Linked DNA regions of Homo sapiens: all the other regions are linked to region 4. The links are contacts of gene promoters, found by promoter capture Hi-C in blood cells and fetal thymus (Javierre and others, 2016). All regions are on one chromosome and are shown on one strand. Each heading gives the region's core, a stretch centred on a gene start or on the middle of the fragment in contact. The rest is flanking DNA. Distances are from core to core; before and after follow the strand shown.

Evidence for each region. Contacts are between HindIII fragments. The CHiCAGO score rates a contact against its expected background, and 5 or more counts as called.
Region 1: a contact is called between a fragment that was not itself captured here and the fragment with the promoter of GTSF1L in region 4, in 2 of 17 cell types (non-activated CD4 T cells and activated CD4 T cells). The highest score is 7.2, in non-activated CD4 T cells.
Region 2: a fragment that was not itself captured here is called in contact with the fragment with the promoter of GTSF1L in region 4 in 2 of 17 cell types (non-activated CD4 T cells and M2 macrophages); the score reaches 7.2 in non-activated CD4 T cells.
Region 3: a fragment that was not itself captured here is called in contact with the fragment with the promoter of GTSF1L in region 4 in 1 of 17 cell types (endothelial precursors); the score reaches 5.1 in endothelial precursors.

Annotation. Positions count from the first base shown.
Region 1 is chr20:44,061,938-44,066,769 of GRCh38, forward strand. TOX2 (TOX high mobility group box family member 2) reads left to right here. Exons shown (of 9, transcript NM_001098797.2): 6 at 2,840-2,920; 7 at 3,775-4,170; 8 at 4,793-4,832. Among named protein-coding and RNA genes, the nearest start is that of JPH2, 120 kb to the right of the region's middle. The HindIII fragment of the contact is 7,560 bases long and covers 1-4,832 here.
Region 2 is chr20:44,094,741-44,099,689 of GRCh38, forward strand. No RefSeq gene overlaps it. Among named protein-coding and RNA genes, the nearest start is that of JPH2, 90 kb to the right of the region's middle. The HindIII fragment of the contact is 2,061 bases long and covers 1,849-3,909 here.
Region 3 is chr20:44,079,076-44,084,153 of GRCh38, forward strand. No RefSeq gene overlaps it. Among named protein-coding and RNA genes, the nearest start is that of JPH2, 110 kb to the right of the region's middle. The HindIII fragment of the contact is 6,228 bases long and covers 1-4,859 here.
Region 4 is chr20:43,724,100-43,728,768 of GRCh38, forward strand. GTSF1L (gametocyte specific factor 1 like) reads right to left here and starts at 2,903. Exons shown (of 1, transcript NM_176791.4): 1 at 2,065-2,903. The coding sequence starts at 2,595. The coding sequence ends at 2,149. The HindIII fragment of the contact is 9,111 bases long and covers 1-4,669 here.

The DNA.
Region 1 (4,832 bases), core at 263-2,762, 340 kb after region 4:
AAAACCCTCAGCAAAATCGGCATAGAAGGGACATACCTTAAGGTAATAAAAGCCATCTATGATAAATCCAGAGCCAACATTACACTGAATGGGGAAAAGTTGAAAGCATTCCCCCTGAGAACTAGAACAAGACAAGGATGCCCATTTATTCGATGCAGTACTGGAAGTCCTGGCCAGAGCAATCAGACAAGAGAAAGAAATAAAGGGCACCAAATCAGTAAAGAGGAAGTCAAACTGTCACTGTTTGCTGATGGGATTATCATATACCTAGAAAACCCTAAAGACTCATCCAAAAAGCTCCTAGAACTGGTAAATGAATTCAGCAAAGTTTCAAGATACAAAATTAATGTACACAAATCAATAGATCTGCTATACACCAACAGTGACCAAGCTGAGAATCACATCAAGAACTCAACCCCCTTTAACTGCAAAATAAATAAATAAATAAATAAATAAATAAATAAATAAATGAATAAATAAAATACTTAGGAATATACCTAACCAAGGAGGTGGAAGACCTCTACAAGGAAAACTACAAAACACTGCTGAAAGAAATCGTAGATGAAACAAATGGAAACACATCCCATGCTCATGGATGGGTAGAATCAATAGTGTGAAAATGACCATACTGCCAAAAGCAATCTATAAATTAAATGCAATTCCCATCAAAACACCACCAACATTCTTCACAGAACTAGAAAAAACAATCCTAAAATTCATGTGGAATCAAAAAAGAGCCCTCATAGCCAAAGCATGACTAAGCAAAAAGAACAAATCTGGAGGCATCACATTACCCGACTTCAAACTATATGGCCATAGTCACCAAAACAGCATGGTACTGGTATAAAAATAGGCATATAGACCATGGAAAAGATTAGAGAACCCAGATATAAAGCCAAATCCTTACAACCAACTGATCTTTAACAAAGCAAACAATAACATGAAGTGGGGAAAGGACACCTTATTCAACAAATGGTGCTTGGATAATTGGCAAGCCACATGTAGAAGAGTGAAACTGGATCCTCATCTCTCACCTTATACAAAAATCAACTCAAAATGGATGGAAGACTTAAATCTAAGACCTGAAACCCTAAAAATTCTAGAAGATAACACTGGAAAAACCCTTCCACAGACATTGGCTTAGGCAAAGACTTCATGACCAAGAACCCAAAAGCAAATGCAACAAAAACAAAGGTAAATAGATGGGACTTAATTAAACTAAAAAGCTGCACAGCAAAAGAACCAGCAGGGTAAACAGACAACCCACAGAGTGGGAGAAAATCTTCACAATCTATACTTTCGACAAAGGACTAATATCCAGAATCTACAAAGGAACTCAAATCAGCAAGAAAAAAACAATCCCATCAAAAATTGGGCTAAGGAGATGAATAGAGAATTCTCAAAAGAAAATATACAAATGGCCAACAAACATATTAAAAAATACTTAACATCATTATGATCAGGGAAATGCAAATCAAAACCACCTTACTCCTGCAAGAATGTCCATAATCAAAAAATAGATGTTGGCATGGATGTGGCAAAAAGGGAACACTTTTACACTGTTGGTGGGAATATAAACTAGTACATCCACTGTGAAAAACAGTGTGGAAATTCCCCAAAGAACTAAAAGTAGATCTACTGTTTGACCCAGCAATCCCACTGCTTGGTATCCACCCAGAGGAGAAGAAATTTTACAAAAAAGATACTTGCACATGTTTGTAGCAGCCCAATTTGCAATTGCAAAAATATGGAACCAGCCCAAATGCCCATCAATCAATGAGTAAAGAAAATGTGCTACATATATATACACACATATATATGTACACACACACACATATACATATATATGTACACACACACACACACAAACACCATGAAATACTACTCAGCCATAAAAAGGAAGGAAATAATGGCATTTGCAGCAACCTGGATGGAATTGGAGACAATTATTCTAAGTGAAGTAACTCAGGAATGGAAAACCAAACATTGTATGTTCTCATAAGTGGGAACTAAGCTATGAGGACACAAAGGCATAAGAATGATACAATGGACTTTGGGGACTTGGGGAAAAGGATGGTAGTGAAGGATAAAAGACTATCATCAGGTACAGTGTACACTGCTCAGGTGGTAGGTTCACCAACATCTCAGAAATCACCATTAAAGAACTTATTCATATACAAAAAAAATTTTTAAATAAGAGTTCCAAGAGTAGCAAGAGGGCTCACCAATATGTGATCACTTTGTCAGTCTCTGCATGCATCACATTTGTGCTTGTCTTATTGGCCAACACAAGTCACACAAGGCTAAGCTCCAAGTCATTTGCACCTCCTCGTTTCTACCAAAAGCCATGGAAACAAGGAGGTGCGAACAAACTGGGACCAGTCCTACAATAACATATGAACCTAGGTCTAAAATTTTTAATAAAAAATATTAGCAAACCGAATCCAAACTAACATACTATGAACAAGTAGGTTCATTCTAGGTTGCGAAGGTGGTTCGGCATTAAGAAATCTGCACTGTGCTGGCTCAGAATGGGGGCTTCAAAGGGCATTGTCTTTCTGTGATCAGTTGTGCTGATAGAACCTGGAGGCCCAGAGAGATGAAGCATGTTGGCCAAGGCCACACAGTGACTTGGCTGAGGAACTGGGATATGGCCTGGTCTCCACAATTTCTCTGCAGCGCTCCCAGAAAGGGGCCAGTGGCTGGCTGACTCAGCTTCTGACCCCACCACCCTCGTCCATTCGTGATCCTTGAATCCATGCCTTCCCACCCCAGGACCCTGCACGGCATCTCCTCTGTAACTTTCTCCCCAGTGTTGCTCATGTGTTGACTCTTCCAGGCCTACAAGAGGAAGACAGAAGCAGCAAAGAAGGAATATCTGAAGGCCCTGGCAGCCTACCGGGCTAGCCTCGTCTCCAAGGTAACACCCGGAATCTCCAGGCACAGCCCTGATCAGAGTGGGGCCACTTGAGGAATGGAGCAAGAACTGGGGCCCGTGGGAAGGGCCGGCACCCCAGGTCTTAGAAAGAATGGCTCAGACCTACATGGTCATGTCTGCAGGGCACCTACAGCATGCCAGGCTCATTCTGGGCACTTTACATGCATTTCATTGGCTTCTTCCAACAAGAACCCAGCACCCAGAGGGGTTGAGCAACTTGCCTGAAAAGATCCAGTTTGTTAAAGTGGCCGCACTAGGATTCAAACCCAGTTTTGCCAGTTTTATGTGGCCTTCACTTCTGACCGCTGATGGGGCTTGGGACACGCTACCCCAAAATATGGCACCTCCTCACCACACCGTCGGCCTCCTCTGTCAACACCAGCAACGTAGGAAGCTAAGTGTGGCTGCGGATGCGTGGCCCAAGTGGAGGTGGGTGTTGTTCCTGGTACAGAAGAGATGGCATCCAAACTGGTCTATAACAGGCCAAGTAAAAGGTGGTTCAAAGTCAAGGGAAAAACATCTACAAAGGCACAGAGGTTGGAAGGAGCATGATTAGAGCTGGCTCAGTGGGATGGTGCTTGTCTCACTGGCCAGGCTGAGGAGCATGGATTCCCCCAAGGGCAGGGGAGCCCCCCAAAGATAAAAGCAGTAGGTGACTGGATGGTCAGAGCCAAGGGGACTAAGGACCCTGTGCTATCTCTGGTTAGTCCAAGCTCTCTCCCAAGACAGCCAGCCAGCAGCCGTGTCAGTGGGTTGCAGAGCCTCCTGGCCTCACAGCCCATGTTCTGGCTCATCCCTCTTCTGTTCTCCAGTGACTGATATCTGTCTCCTTCCAGAGCTCCCCAGATCAAGGTGAGACCAAGAGCACTCAGGCAAACCCACCAGCCAAAATGCTCCCACCCAAGCAGCCCATGTATGCCATGCCAGGCCTGGCCTCCTTCCTGACGCCGTCGGACCTGCAGGCCTTCCGCAGTGGGGCCTCCCCTGCCAGCCTCGCCCGGACGCTGGGCTCCAAGTCTCTGCTGCCAGGCCTCAGTGCGTCCCCGCCGCCGCCACCCTCCTTCCCGCTCAGCCCCACACTGCACCAGCAGCTGTCACTGCCCCCTCACGCCCAGGGCGCCCTCCTCAGTCCACCTGTTAGCATGTCCCCAGCCCCCCAGCCCCCTGTCCTGCCCACCCCCATGGCACTCCAGGTGCAGCTGGCGATGAGCCCCTCACCTCCAGGGCCACAGGTAAGCAGGGAAGAGCAGAACAGCCCTTCTGTGACCGTGTGGGGAGGGGAAGCGGCTTTGCCCTTTCAAACCCTGGCCCTGCCACTCACCAGTGATATAACCTCAGCCTTGGCACCTGACCTCTCTGAGCCTCAGTTACCACATCTAGGAAGTGGGTCTCGCACACCTTACCTGAGATGTGCTGGCTGCAGTGAACAGTTCACGAGTTGCCAGACTGACTCTTAGGATACTCCAGTCCCCCCTTCCTGCATCCTCAGCCCTAGCCCTGGCCCTTCCCAAAGCCTTCGAGACCTTACCCCCGCTAATTGTTCCACAGAGATTGCTACGAGGTTCACATGGCCCTTAGAGGTCATTGGGTTCAGTAATTCCATTTTACAGATCGAGAAACTGAGGCCCAGAAAGGGAAAGGCCCTGAAAGCCAAGTCCTTCAGCCCCTGATTCAGCCAAGACAAGGGTTGAACATTTTGAAAGGTGCTCTACTGGGAGCAAGGCAGCAGCCCTGGAGGCAGCATCTCTTTGGTGTGGACACCCTTGGACACATGGGCTCTCACCCCGGGAGGCCTGGGACAGTCTGCCCCCTCATCTCTCCTTGGCTCATGGCCTCCTCCTTCCCACTCTGTAGGACTTCCCGCACATCTCTGAGTTCCCCAGCAGCTCGGGAT
Region 2 (4,949 bases), core at 1,629-4,128, 370 kb after region 4:
TATGTTTGTATAATTTGTCCATGTTTCTGCACGTAGAAGAAAAATCTGTTACAATGTTTTTGTTATGACTGAAATAAATAGAAAATGCAAAACTGCTCCTTAAAATCTGTTATTACAAATGTTCCAAGCAGATTTCATGATTTGGTGAAGAGGTTGAATAGCTTACCCAATAATATGCAACAGATTAAAGAGAGGAAGTACTCCAAAGTCACATCACAAAAATAGATGCCTACATAAGTGGAAATAAACTAAAAATTTAATAATTGACATAACCTTTACACAATCTGTATTATTTTGACTTTCAAAAAATTGCTAAAATGAAGTCTACATTTATCAAGTTTGCTCATGCAGGGATTATGCACAATAAACATACATCCCCTTGGTTAGGCATGGTGGCTCATGCCTATAATCCCAGCACTTTGGGAGGCCAAGGCAGGCAGATCACTTGAGGTCAGGAGTTCAAGACCAGCCTGGCCAACATGGTGAAACCCCATCTCCACTAAAAACACAAAAATTAGCTGGGCATGGTGGCAGGCGCCTGTAATCCCAGCTACTCGGGAGGGTGAGGCAAGAGAATCACCTGAACTCAGGGGCGGATGTTGCAGTGAGCCGCGATGGTGCCACTGCACTCTAGCCTGGGCAACAGAGTGAAACTCCATCTCAAAAAAAAATAAATAAAATAAAACAAAAATAAAATAAACATACATCCTCTTTATACAATGCTTTTGGAGAGAGACTGATCGTATGATGCAAATCACTCCAGACTGGGAATAACAGTTAAATTTGAGTCTCTGTCCATCAGTGATAAACAAGATGAAGTTAATTAGATTCAAATATTTTATTTTCAAGCATAAAATAGGACATTCACAAGACACGCTGAGGTTTTTTTTCTAGCTCTAAAACATAACATGATCCTAAATATATTTAGACAACCAAAAATGATATCAGAGACATGAGAAAATCTGGCAAGATAGTGATTTCAAGAGGTGGACCCAGCTCACCCTCTGTATTCATTTTCTACTATTTTACTATTAAATTTCCTGGTATTAAAAATTACCAAAACGTAGTGGATTAAAACAACACAAATGTCTTACCTTACCTTATTATCTCATAGTTTTGTGGGCCAGAGTCCAGCAAGGGTCTCACTGGGCTGAGATTAAGGTGTCAGCAGGGCCGTGTGCCTTTCAGGAAGCTGTAGGAGGGTATCTGCTTCCTGGCCTCTTCCAGCCTCCAGAGACCCCCTTCCTCCATCTTCAAAGCCGGCAACATAGTGTGTAGGTGACCCTACTTCCATCACCACATCCCTTTCTCCGACCGCAGCTGCCACTGGTTGTCTGCTCTTAAGGAGCCGTGTGATTAGATTGGATCCACCTGGATAATCCAGGCTACTCGCCCCAACTCAAGGACAGATGATAGCAACTTTAGTCAATTCCCTTTTGCCATGCAAGGTAACATGCTCACAGGTGCTGGGGACTAGGACGTGGACATTGTATTAGGCCATTCTTGCCTTGCTATAAAGGAACACCTGAGACTGGGTAATTTACAAGAAAAGAGGTTTAATTGGCTCATGGTTCTATAGGTTTACAGTTTCAAAGATGGCATCAGCATCTATCCAGCTTCTGGGGAGGCTTTGAGGGGGCTTTTACTCATGGCGGAAGATGAAGGGAAGCAGTCTGTTACATGGTGACAGCAGGAGAAAGAGAGGGAGGTGGAGTGGGAGGGAGGGGGGTGCCACACACCTTTAAACAATCAGATCTTCTGATAACTCACTCACTATCACCAGGACAGCACCCTCTTTTCCACAATCTTGATGGAGTAACTCCAATTCTAGAGCTAGCAGGTTAGTGAAGCTTAGAAAGGGCATTTGATTTTGTTTTTAATCATCCCTATCCAGCTCCTGTCCTGTTCCCCAAATCTCCAGGGCTCAAAGCCTAGATGATCCTTTATTTCCTATAAAACAAAACATGCGATGGCAAAAGCTCATGTCTCCACCAGGCCTTAAGACCAAGGACTTCCTGGGCTCCCTGAGGGAGTCTGCTCAGTGGATGCTTTTGAATTATCTATACCAGGGACTGGCAAACCTTTTCTGTAAGGGACAGAAAGGAAATATTTTAGGCTTTGCGGGCCACATGGTATCTATCACAACTATTCTGTTACCAGATGGAGGGCCTTGAGTGTGAGTTGTCCGGGTCCTCAGTGTTTTGAACAAAGAATTGGACAAAACACACAAAGTGACAAACGAATGAAACAAAGCAACAAAGCAGTGAAAGCAGGGAATGATATTTTATTTTATTCATTTATTTATTTTTGAGACAGAGTCTCACTCTGTCGCCCAGGCTGGAGTGCAGTGGTGTGATCTTGGCTCACTGCAACCTCTGCCTCCTGGGCTCACGCCATTCTCCGAAAGCGAGATTTATTAAAGTGGAAAGCGCTCCACAGGTGGGAGTGGGCCCAAGCAAGCAGCTCACGGGCCTGGTTACGAAGTTTTCTGGGTTTTAACGACTCCTTTTGAGGGCCCTATCGGCTACAAAAATGAGTACCAAACTCATGTCTTGCTTTATAGAAAATAAAGGATCATCTAGGCTTTGGATCCTGGAGATTTGGGGAACAGGACAGGAGCCGGATGTCAGGTCCACAACTACGCCAAATGTCCTGCTTGGGGTCAGGTTCGGGCCCATACTGAGGTCCAAGGGGAGTGGGCGGATGGGCAGATAGGTGAAAAACACTGGGCGGGTGCCATAGGCAGGTGAAATGTAGTTTTATTCAGCAGCTCTCTCATCAACAGCTCTTACACACTCTTCTCTCATCAGTAGTTTTCTCACACCGTCCGCCCTGTTTTAGCTGCTTGAGTGGGCTGCTCCCATACACCGCTGTGCTGCCGGCTCTCCCTTGCCTTCAGGGTCAGCAGCTTAACTCTTTCTCTGGGCACAAGCTGGTTCCGGGCTCCCCACTGCCCACCTGCAAGACGGACAGCTTTGGCTCTCTCTTCCTCTGGGCACCAGCGCACCCAACCACGTCAAGCCATGCCCAAGAGCCAAGCCCAGCCATGTCCCCAGAGCCCCGTGCAGTGTCAGCAGGGCAGTCATACCTTTTACAGACAATAGTGGCGTAGAGCCAAGTATGAACTTACACAAACAGTTATATAACAAGTGGAGGTGTGAGCCTGCACCCCAACCCTGCTGAGTCATGCAGGCCTGGATGTCTGCCTCGGCCTATTCCTTGACCAAAGCACATCCATGTGAAGGAAATAATGTATACAGTGGTCCATTTCCAAGATAAAGTGCCTTGAATTGGCTTAGGTCAGCAAACTACAGAAGAAACAAGATATACTAGGCCCCTGCTTGGATAGCCGATGCCTGCTTGTCGGCCTCTCCCTTCTCCCCTTCCTCCCTTGCTTAGTTGCCCTCACTCAAACCAAAGACATTTAGTCTAAAATGAAAGTTTACTAGCCTGCAAAATAGCTCACTTTGTCAGTTCTTATCGGCCTGCCCAGCTACTTAGGTCATTAGGTCATAAGACAAATGCTTAAAAAGCCCCTGAGCTAACTAGGATTGCAATACATTGTGGGCTGCAACAAAATGCCACAAGACAACCCTAAAAAAGAACACCTAAAGCCCCTACCCACCATCACTAGGCAAAGTCCGGGAAGAGTGTGACCCCACAGTACTCAGCCTTTGAGGAACCGGTGGAGAGACCTGTGCACTAGAGGATGAATTGCTTGTTGTGACTGCGCTGGGTGTGCCTGCTCATTAGACACCCAGTCTTGCAAGACCGTCATTAAAAGTCTCACTTTCACTATTCTCTGGGTCTCTAAGTCCATTCTTGAGTTCGAACGCATGAATTTGTTCCTCACACATGTACCTTACACTGGATAGGGCTGATTAAAAACAAAATCAAATACACCTTCTAAGCTTCACTTTCCTGCTAGCTCTAGAGTTGGAGTTACTCCATCAAGATTGTGGAAGAGAGTGTGGTAGGAAGAATAATGGCACCGCTGAAGATGTCCATTCTTTATCTGGATGAAGGATTTGGCCCATGGCTAATTAAAGCTGAAGTGAATTGGTCCGCAGTCATCTGGAGACGGAGTGGATCGGCACCCTACGCAGATGGGGGGATGGCTAGCACTTGGCCCACAGCCAATCCAAGGCACTTTCCTTTCCATCTGAGACATGGTGGAAGGTTGTATGGAGAGTAACCTTTGATTCTTTGTTATCCCAGCATGGCAAGATGGAGTTTTTCCTTTTGGCTTAGCTTTTGGAAGTGGGTGTTAATTGGTCTTAGAGTCCCTGCCCCCAGACCCAAGTGTTTCCCTTTTGATCCAGCCTTAGGAAGTCAGCACACATTGGCCTTAAGTTGCCTGGTCCAAACCCTATTCTCCTGCCTCAGTTCAATCTGTCAATATGAAGGTTGAAAATACATCATTAAATGAGCATAGCTGTGGGCCAATAGAACTTTATTCATAACACTGAAATGTGAATTTTACATGATTTTTCACATCATGAACTAGTCTTCCTTTGTTTCCCACCCTAACCATTTAAAACAGTAAAAACCAGCTGGGCATGGTGGCTCATGCCTTTAACCCCAGTACTTTGGGAGGCCAAGGTGGGCGGATCACTTGAGGCCAGGAGTTCGAGACCAGCCTGGCCAACATGGTGAAACCCTGTCTTTACTAAAAATACAAAAATTATCTGGGCATGATGACTCATGCCTGTGATCCCAGCTACTCAGGAGGCTGGGGCAGGAGAAGTGCTTGAACCCGGGAGCTGGAGGTTGCAGTGAGCCAAGATCCCACCACTGCACTCCAGCCTGGGTGACAGAGTGATACTCTGTTTCAAAAATACATACATACATACATACATACATACATACATACATACATACATATGTAAAAACTGTTCTTAGCTCAAAGACCAAAAAAAAAAACAAATCAGACATCGGGCCAGATTTTG
Region 3 (5,078 bases), core at 496-2,995, 350 kb after region 4:
TAATAGTAAGAGTGTAACAAACGAAGCACATTCATTAATTCCTCCACACACGTGTCTTCCACAGGGGAGTGGGGAGTAGGAGGGTGGTCTCCAAGCTCCTTCCTCCTCCCCTGTCAGGCTGGCTTTTTATTTTTATTTTTTTTTTTTTGAGACAGGGTCTTACTCTGTTACCCAGGCTGGAGTGCAGTGACGCCATCTCAGCTCACTGCAGCTGCAACCTCCTGGGCTCCAGCGATCTCCACACCTAAGCCTCCCGAGTAGCGGAGACTACAGACACGTATCACCACACCTGGCTAATTTTTGTAGAGACAGGGTCTCACTATGTTGGCCAGGCTGGTCTTGAACTCCTGAGCTCAAGCGATCCTCCCGTCTCGGCCTCCCAAAGTGCTGGGATCACATGCATGAGCTACAGTGCCCTGCGAGGCCGGCTGTTGACCACACTTACATCCTCAACTCCGCCCACCTTTGATGGACAGCATATTAGTCAGCCTGGGCTGCCATAACAACAGAAATGGTTTAAACAACAGAAATTAATTTTCTCACTGTTCTGGAGACTGGGAGTCAAAGGTCAAGGTGCTAGCAGGCTTTGTTTCTTCTGAGGCCTCTCTAGATGACCACCTTCTGTGTCCTCACATGGCCATCCCTCTGCGCCTGTCCACCTCTGGGGTCTCTCTGCATGTCTGAGTCTCGTCTTCTTTGAGAACACCTGGTAGGTTGAATTAGGGCCCATCCTAATGGCCTCATTTTTAACGTAATCACCTCTTTAAAGGCCCCGTCTCCAAATACAGTCATATTCTGAGGCACCGGGGGTTCGAACTTCAACATGTGAGTTTGGGGGAACACAGTTCAGTCCCTGTAGATGGGGTGCTCAATAATGATTAGAAACCCCACGGTGCTGGTTAAATCTAACCACTGGTTCATGGGCCAGGTGAAAGGAAACAGACGCAAATCAGGAAGGATTCTGTGTGAGTGCACAGTAGCCAGGTCACTCTTCTGGGAGGGTATTGCAAAGTCGAAACGCGGCATGCTCCACCTCCAGCTCACCACCGTCCAGCCCAGGAAATCCACAGGTCTTTGCAGGTGCCATGCACGCTATGCTGACACAGCACAAGGGACACTTACTGATAGGTCCTGGGAGGACACTGAAGGACAGGACTGCCTCCCGCATCTCCACAGTGACTCTTGGCCACACCATTTGTTACATTTCCTGGGTGCCTTCCTAAACCTCCAAGCTGCCCTGGAATCCCTTGACTCCCATCTACAATATATTATTAGTATAAAGGGAGTCGACGAACTCACAACCACAAGCTGCAAATTCCAGTGACGTCAGGGTCAGGCAGATAACATAAGCAAAGGAAGGAGACAGAGGGACGGACATATGAGAGAGAGTGATGAGGACTGGGGCTAAGTGGAGAGGGACTGCCCTGCCAAAAAGCATTTAAATTCAATGCGTGTTGGAACACCATCCCAGCCAAAAAACAAAACAAAACAAAAAAAAACCAACCAAACACAAACCAACCAACAAAACCAAGTTTGCTGACCAAATGCAGCCTCCAAGCATCTAGTTGGTGATCTCCACTGAGGATATATGGTTAAGAGGACAGGCTTTGAAGACACAGACCTGATTTTGAATTTCACTGTTTCTGTGAAACAGTCTGGTCCAAATGTTAGAGATGTGTGAGAAATATATGAAATAAAGCATGTAGTGCTTAGTGCAGTCCTGACACATAGCAAGTGCTAAGTTAATAGTAGCTATTAATATTACTGTGGTAAATAAGAAAGTAGTGACGTGATTCTAAGCCTTCACTTCTCAGGAACAGTGCGGAGAGTACTCACGTGTGGAGTGGTGGTGCCTCCTGGTGGTCATAATTAGGAACTGCAGAGCAGTGTAGCAGGCCTAACAGAATGATTAGGAGCCAAGAGGGCTAATTTACGGTCAGACAATGGGTTTGACTCCAGTTCTGCCATCTGCGAGTAGGTGACACAGGTCATTCACCTCCATGCTTAGCCTCCATATTCAACTGCCCTACACCTACAACCCCACGGAGTGGCTCTGACAACTTAACAAGACAATATGATATCACTTTTAAGGGCTTTACTGCATACTAAGTGCTACGATCCTAGGATGATCCTGGCATGATGTCAGAACTCAGAACACCGCAGCACCACACTGCCAACATCCTTCTCTCTTGTGAGAAGGTGAAACAGGTGGGTCCCCAGTTGTTACTTATTTTTTCTTTTATTGGGTGGCAATGAGAAGGGGTTACTCTGGACCGGAGCCCCTGACCAGAAAAATAGATCTGCTGTATCACCTGAAATTCACTGGAGCAAAATATTCCTTTGAGTTATGCATTGCTCTATCCAGACTTCTCTTTTAAACCGGAAGTTCCCCCAGAAGGGTGACTGTATTAGTTCCAAATACCCACATGAGCATGAGTTTATCAGCTGCTCCCCTCCCTGACAGGAGGAGGGGACTGGGGGACACTTTGTGCTGTCATTACCTCCGTTTGGGACCCCTGCCCCAGTCACAGCCTTCTGCCCACTTGCCATTGCTGGCCTACAGAGCTGGCTTCCTGCCTGCCTGTGATGGGAGACCCTGCCTTCAAGCTGGCTGAGTTGTCCCCAGGAGGTAGAGAACCAGAGGCCAGGCCTGACCTCAGACTGCAGGGTCCCCTCTCCCACGGCCCTCTGGGGAAGCTCCCCGCACCCAGGCCTCCTCAGCCCTGCCCCTCCTCCCCAGGTCCTGAGCTCTTCTTCCAGCAAACAGCGGCAGCATCTGCCTGGAAACACAGGAAAGGTGCCTCCACTTGTATCCTTTCCTGCCGCCAGATGGAGAAATAAAAACAGGAATAACAGATCCCACTGCCAGAGCACGTGTGCTGGGGCCTCTGCTGGGCACTGCAGACCCATTGGCTCATTTCATCATCTCGCCAACCCCATGTGATAGATGCAATGATTGTTCACATTTCACAGATGAGAAAACTGAGGCTCAGAAGGGTGAGTGAGTTGCCGAAGGTCACAGAGCTTGACAGCGGGGGAGCCTGGGTGGGAACCAGGCAGACCAATGCCTGACCCTTCACCATGGTGCAATGTTTACCCAATGGGAAGCCATCCCTTCCACCTCCAAATCCAAGAGGCTGCTGCTGACCAAGATCCAGCCCATTACCCTACTGTCAGATTGATCACATGAGCATGAATTATCAAACTGACACTCTGACCCACCCTGACAAATGTCACTGGCCAAATGTGTGACTGGTCATAACTGACAGATGGACAGACATTTGGCTTGGGAAAGCTAGGACCTGGCTAATGTTTGCTTTTAAAAGATCTTAATTTTTTTTTTCATTTTAAATTGAGGTATAATTTACAGCCTCTAAAATGCCCACATTTTAGATTGATGTACAGTTGATGTGGTTTTGTTTTCTTGTTTTTGAGATGGAGGGTTGCGTCTTGCTCTGTTGCCCAGGCTGGAACGTAGTGGCGTGATGTTGGCTCACTGCAACCTCCACCTCCTGGGGTCAAGGGATTCTCCTGCCTCAGCCTCCCGAGTAGCAGGGATTACAGGCATGCACCACCACACCTGGCTAATTTTTGTATTTTTAGTAGACATGGGGTTTCACCATGTTGGTTAGGCTGGTCTTCAACTCCTGACCTCAGGCGATTGGCCCACCTCAGCCTCTCAAGTGCTGGGATTACAGGTGTGCGCCACCCCGCCTGGCCAGATTGATGAGTTTGATACACGTGTATGTCCCAGTCAAGCTACAGGACATTCCTGTCACCCTAGAAATCTCTCACACCCCTTTCCAGCCAACCCCTGCCCCCACTGCTCTAGGCAGCCACTGCTCTGATTTCTGTCACTACAGCTAGGTTTTGCCTCTTCTAGAATTTCATACAAATGGAAGTACTGGGTATGTACATATTTATGTGTCTGCTTCCTTCACTTAATGGCTTTTAAGTTCATCCATGTTGTTCCCTGCATGTCTTTAATTTCTTCCTTTTTGTCCCTGAACAGGATTCCATTTTAAGCGATCGGGCACAGTTTGTTTTTCTGTTATCCTGTTGAGAGTCATGTGTGTTGTTTCTAGGTTTTGACAATTATGCCTAAAGCTGCTATGAACATTCTTGTACAAGTCTTTTTGCACATATGTTTTCATTTATTTTGGGTAAATACGTGGGAGTTTAAATGCTTGATCACAGGGTAGGTATATGTTTAACTTCAAAATAAAACCTGTCAAACTGTTTCCCCAAGTGGGTGTATGATCTGGTCAATTAATTTTAACTACTCATCTGGTGAGCCAGAACTACCTACCAACTGACTTCCTTTCCAGACAAATACCATGTGACTCATGAGCTGGGCTTCCAGGGACTAGAATTGTTCCTGGGGACAGGCTGGGTGCTGACCAGAAGCAAAGGATGACATTTGAGAAGTTACCTGGCTGGCTGCCCGCCTTCTGGGGCCTGTGCTGCGCACTGCAGACCCACGGTCTCCCTTCTGCCCCAGCTCCTCTTGCAGGCTTCTGAGGCAAAAGAACTTCTGCCAGGCCAGGCATCCCAACTCCCTCTAAAGAAACCCTCAGCAAGATGCTCATTCGGTCCCTCACATCAGTGCCAGGTGAAGAGAACGTGACCGGGGCTATCCTGAGGCTGCGGGTGGCCAGGGACGTAGGAGGGAGAAGGCAGGAGCTCTCTAGGCCAGACTAGAGTTCCATGCTCAGGCGTGAGGCTGTACAGCCCTATGGTACACCTCAGATCTGGGAGAGGGAATTATCTCACCTGTGAGAGTGTGGACAATACTGTCAATAGCAGCTCAGCCCTGGCCTCATGTCAGTTATCAATTGCTGTGTAATGAAGGATCCCCAAGCTTACGGGTCAAAATGATTATTCATTCTATCTCACAAACCTGTGGGTTGACTAGATGGCTCTCCTGCTCCACGTGGTTGGCTAGGGCGACAGGACACTGGAGCTGGAGCATCAAAGACGGCTTCTCTCCATATCCAGAGCTCAACTGAGATGACTGAAACATCTGGGGTTGACTGGGCGTCTCTCTTCTTTCTCCATCCATGTGGCCTGTCCATGGA
Region 4 (4,669 bases), core at 1,653-4,152:
GTGACAGACGTCAGCTCTATCTTGCTCTGTCTTGACAGAGCCCCTGTGGGTAGCGCTTCCACTAGGCTCACTCCCTTATGGCCCAATTCAGGGAGTTTCAGGAAGAGTAAGTTTTCCTGGTCCTGTTGGCCTATGGTTTATAGACATATATTCTCCACATCACTTTTTCCCCCTATTTCCTGTATGTCAGTTCTCTAGTTCATGCACTTCATTAATCACTGCCATCCAGAACTTTTTATCCCCCCAAGAAGTCTTTGTTTATAATACTTCGTGTAAGCAGTTGAAGGGGCCAGCTGGGTGGCAAAGTTATGATTACTTAAAAAAAAAAAAAAAAAGCAGTGAGCCTAGGCAACATAGTGAGACCCCATCTCTACAAAAAAATAGAACTAGCCAGTTATGGTGGTGCACGCCTGTGGTCCCAGCTAGTTGTTAGGCTTTGACGAGAGGATTGCTTGAGCCTTAGAGGTTGAGGCTACAGTGAGCTATGATTGCGCCACTGCACACCAGCCTGGGCGACAGAGCGAGGACTCTGTCTCAACAAAAAAACAAAAAAAAAACTTAACAGTTAAGATTTCCTCCTGAAAAACTTTCAAAGGACTTAAGTCTTCTACCTGCTGTTTAAAAAAATATAGTTTAATTTTTGACCAGATAACATATTCATATATATTCCCATGTAAAAGATTCTAAAGAGTCAATAGTAAAGAAGGGCTCTCTCTTGTCTTCCCTGGAGGCAGACAATATCAGTTTCTAGTGAAGAGGCAAGCAAATTTTTCTATTAGGCAACAGGTTGAAAAATTTCAGGCTTTGTGGACAGATCTCCATTCTAGAGTATCCTTAAAGAGAAATTTTATGCAAAAACAAGCACATACATATTCATGTCTTCTCCCGCAACTCTCCCCAAATGGTGGCATACTGTATAGACTGCTCTGGACTTGTTTTTGTTTTTTCTTTTCTTTTTCCTTTTTTTTTTTTGAGACAAAGTCTCGCTCTGTCACCCAGGCTGGATTGCAATGGCGTGATCTCGGCTAACTGCAGCCTCTGCTCCCGGGTTCAAGCTATTCTCCTGCCTCAGCCTCTTGAGTAGCTGGGATTACAGGTGCCCACCACACGCCCGGCTAAATTTTGTATTTTTAGTAGAGATGGGGTTTTGCCATGTTGGCCAGGCTGGCCTCGAACTCCACACCTCAGGTGATTGGCCCGCCTCCGGCTCCCAAAGTGCTGGGATTACAGGCATGAGCCACCGGGCCCGGCCTGGACTTGGTTTTTATCAGTTAAACTGGGGGTTGGCAAACCATGGCCCACCAGTCAAGTCCAGCCTGCCACCTGTGGCTGTAAGGCATTTTATTGGAACCTCTGTTCATTTGTTTACATATTATATGTGGCTGCTCTCGTGTTGCAGTGGCAGGGCCGAGTAGTTGCAACACAGACTGTGTGGCTGACAAAGGCTAAGATATTTGCCATCTGGCCTTTTACAGAAACAGTTTGCTGACCTCTGAGCTCAACAGTGTGTCTCAACCTTTCTATATCAGCACAGAAAGAGCTTCCTCACTTTTTTTAAGGCGGCATAATATTTTGTTGTATGGCTGCAGTATAACTTATTTTTAATCAGGCCCTTTTAATGGATATTTAGGTCATTTTTGACTTTTTTTTTTGTTGCTTAAGACAGGATCTCACTATGTTGCCCAGGCTGAACTCAAGCGATCCTCTCGCCTCAGCTCCCAGAGTAACAGGCTACAGCTGTGATTCAACACACCTGGCTCATTTCTAACTCTTTTGCTGCTGCAAATAATGCTGCAGTGAATAAGCTAGTACTTAGCTCATTTTCCACATGTGTGATTATATTTACAGAATGAAGCCTGGAAGTGGAATTGCTCAATCAAAGCCTGTATGCATTGATAATGTTTATAGCTATTGTCAAATTGCCCTCTGTGGAGGTTGTACCAACTGACATTCTCACCAATGTTATGAAAGTGCCCATTTTGCCCTACCTTTGCCAGCAGAGTATTTTAAGCCTTTTGATATTTATCAATCTGCCAGGTTAAAAAAAGAGGTAGCCCAGGGTAGTTTACTTTGCATGTCTTTTATTCTGATGCATTGCACGTTCTTCCATGCATTGATGAGGCGTGTGCTCCTTCCTCAGCTGGCAGTTTACTGTCCTGGTCTGAGGATCTTCTGGGGACTGGTCTCTCTTGCTGACTCTTTCGTGTCATTTTCACAAACAACCTTTTGAGGAAAAAAAGTCTTAAGGACAAACACATGCTGGCAATTAGCGCCATCGACATTCCAGATATCGGGGCTGGGAAGGCAGGGTGAGACCTGCTGGGTGTCATCGTTCTGCTCTGAACTAGGAGGACTGACTTTCAGAGGGTTCTCGGTGTCCTCTTCTTCCACAGCGCTCCTGTTGACACAAACAGCCTCATGTTCCTCCAGATTTTTGATGGGGACCACGTGGCAGGCGTTGTATTTGCAGGTGGCCATCTTTTTGGCTTTCTTGGGGTTCTTTCTCCTGCACGATGCCAGGTGGTACTGGAATCTGCTGAGTGGGATTCGGTGGTGAGGATCATAAGGGCAAATTTCAAAGGCTTCTGGCTCCATGAGAAATTCTTGAAGCAGGGTATCTCACTGCTAGAGTCTAACGGAAATGCTTCTTGTGGAGAAGCCCTTTTGTAAGAAGGATGGAGTTGTCCTCTGCCCAGTTTTGGCCCTTGGGATTCTGTAGGTGACGGTCTTAACTTGTGGTCTGTTCTCTAGGACTGTGAGTGGTGGATTAGAAGAGAGATGAGGAGCTGCCAAAAGCAGCTACACAGAGAACAGAGTTAGCAAATGGCACCCGAGACAGAACTATAGCAGATGCAAGAGCCAAAAACCCACAGCCGCTTGACTCACGGATATACTATGATGTCAAGCTGCAGTCACCGGTGGTCACAATGGGCAGCCTAAGTCATCAGGAAGAGGCTATTGTGCACTGCTTGGGAGGGGTGGATGGCTTTGGGAATGCTGCCATCTAAAATTGCTCATGGATGTATGTTGTGACTTAAGTCTTTTAACTGTACGTATTTGTTTTTTGTTTTTGTTTTTGTTTTATTTGAGACAGAGTCTCGCTCTGTTGCCAGGCTGGAGTACAGTGGTGCGATCTTGGCCCACTGCAATCTCCGCCTCCCAGGTTCAAGTGATTCTCCTGCCTCAGGCTCCCGAGTAGCTGGGATTACAGGCACCTGCCATCATGCCCGGCTAATTTTTTGTATTTTTAGTAGAGACGGGTTTCACCATGTTGGCCAGGCTGGTCTTGAACTCCTGACCTCAGGTGATCCACCCGCCTCAGCCCCCCAAAGTGCTGGGATGATAGGTGTGAGCCCCTGCGCTTTGCCAGGGCTGGTTTTTGGATGTGATTCTCAGGGCCGTCTTTCTTTACCCTTCTGCTCTGCTGAGGCCCACAGCAGCCTAGTCTCCTTGGGTGTGGGGGAAGGGTTTAAATCTATTCATATATCGCAGAAGGTGAAGCCTTTTGGTGTTCAGCTTAACATGGGAAACATTTCCTATAAAACGCCCCATCTTAGGTCGACCCTGCCGTTGTCCCTCACAGAACTGGACCAAAGTCTGAATGGACGCAATTGACACATATCTCAGGGTGTTAGTGGTTTTGGTCCTCTGACATTCTATTTACATGTCTGGTGTTAGGTAGGATTTCTTCTAAAAATTGGCCTGGAGCTCCTTCCCACCCCCCACCCTGTTAAATTGTTTCTCAAGATCTGAGTGACAGTAGAGAAATACCATATTCCTGAATAGGAAGACTCAAAATCATAAATGAATATTCTCTGTAAACTAAATTACATAAATTACATAGTCATCCTAAATTGATACATAAATATAATGCAATTCCAAATAATTTTTGTAGCTTTATGTGCTGATATCTGATAGAGCAAGTCTCTGCTTGTTATTAGTTTTCCCCCCAAAAGCCTTGACTATCTTCAAGGATTTGTTATTCTAGATCATGTGTCAACAAACTATGGGCCCATGATTCAAATCCAGATGGCTATCTGCTTTTGTAAATAAAGTTTTATTGAAGCACAGCCACACCCATTTGTTTATATATTGTCCATTGGCTGCTTTTGAGCTAGATTTGAGTAGTTGCAACAGAATCCAGATGACCTAGAAACCTCTAATGTTTTCTGTCTGGCCCATTATAGAAAAAGCTCACCCATCCTATTCTTGGTGGTGGTTAAGGAAGCTGACTGTATTCAAATTCTACCTCCTGCCACTTACCAGCCATGTGACCTTGGGGAAGGTGTGTGTGTGAGTGTGTGTGTGTGTATGTGTGTGTGTGTGTTTCCTGGTATTTACTAAGCTCTATTGATGGTGTCTTTTCAGGTAGGCTTTGTAGTTTTCTTTCTATTTTTTGCACGTTAAAAAAAAATTAATCTATGATGCTTTATGGTTTTTTCTTTTTCTTTTTTTTTTGTCATTGTAAATGACACTTTTTCCATCTCTCCACATCCTAGCTATGGTGTTCAGCCTTTTTTGAGAATTGAAGTGATTGGCTTTGTCTACATTGTTACATAATTGCAACTGATCATACATGTGGGATGTCTTGTTACTATCATATGACATGCAGACAATTTAGCAACATGACACTCACTGATGTCATAGTAAGAAATTGTAATGGGAACCC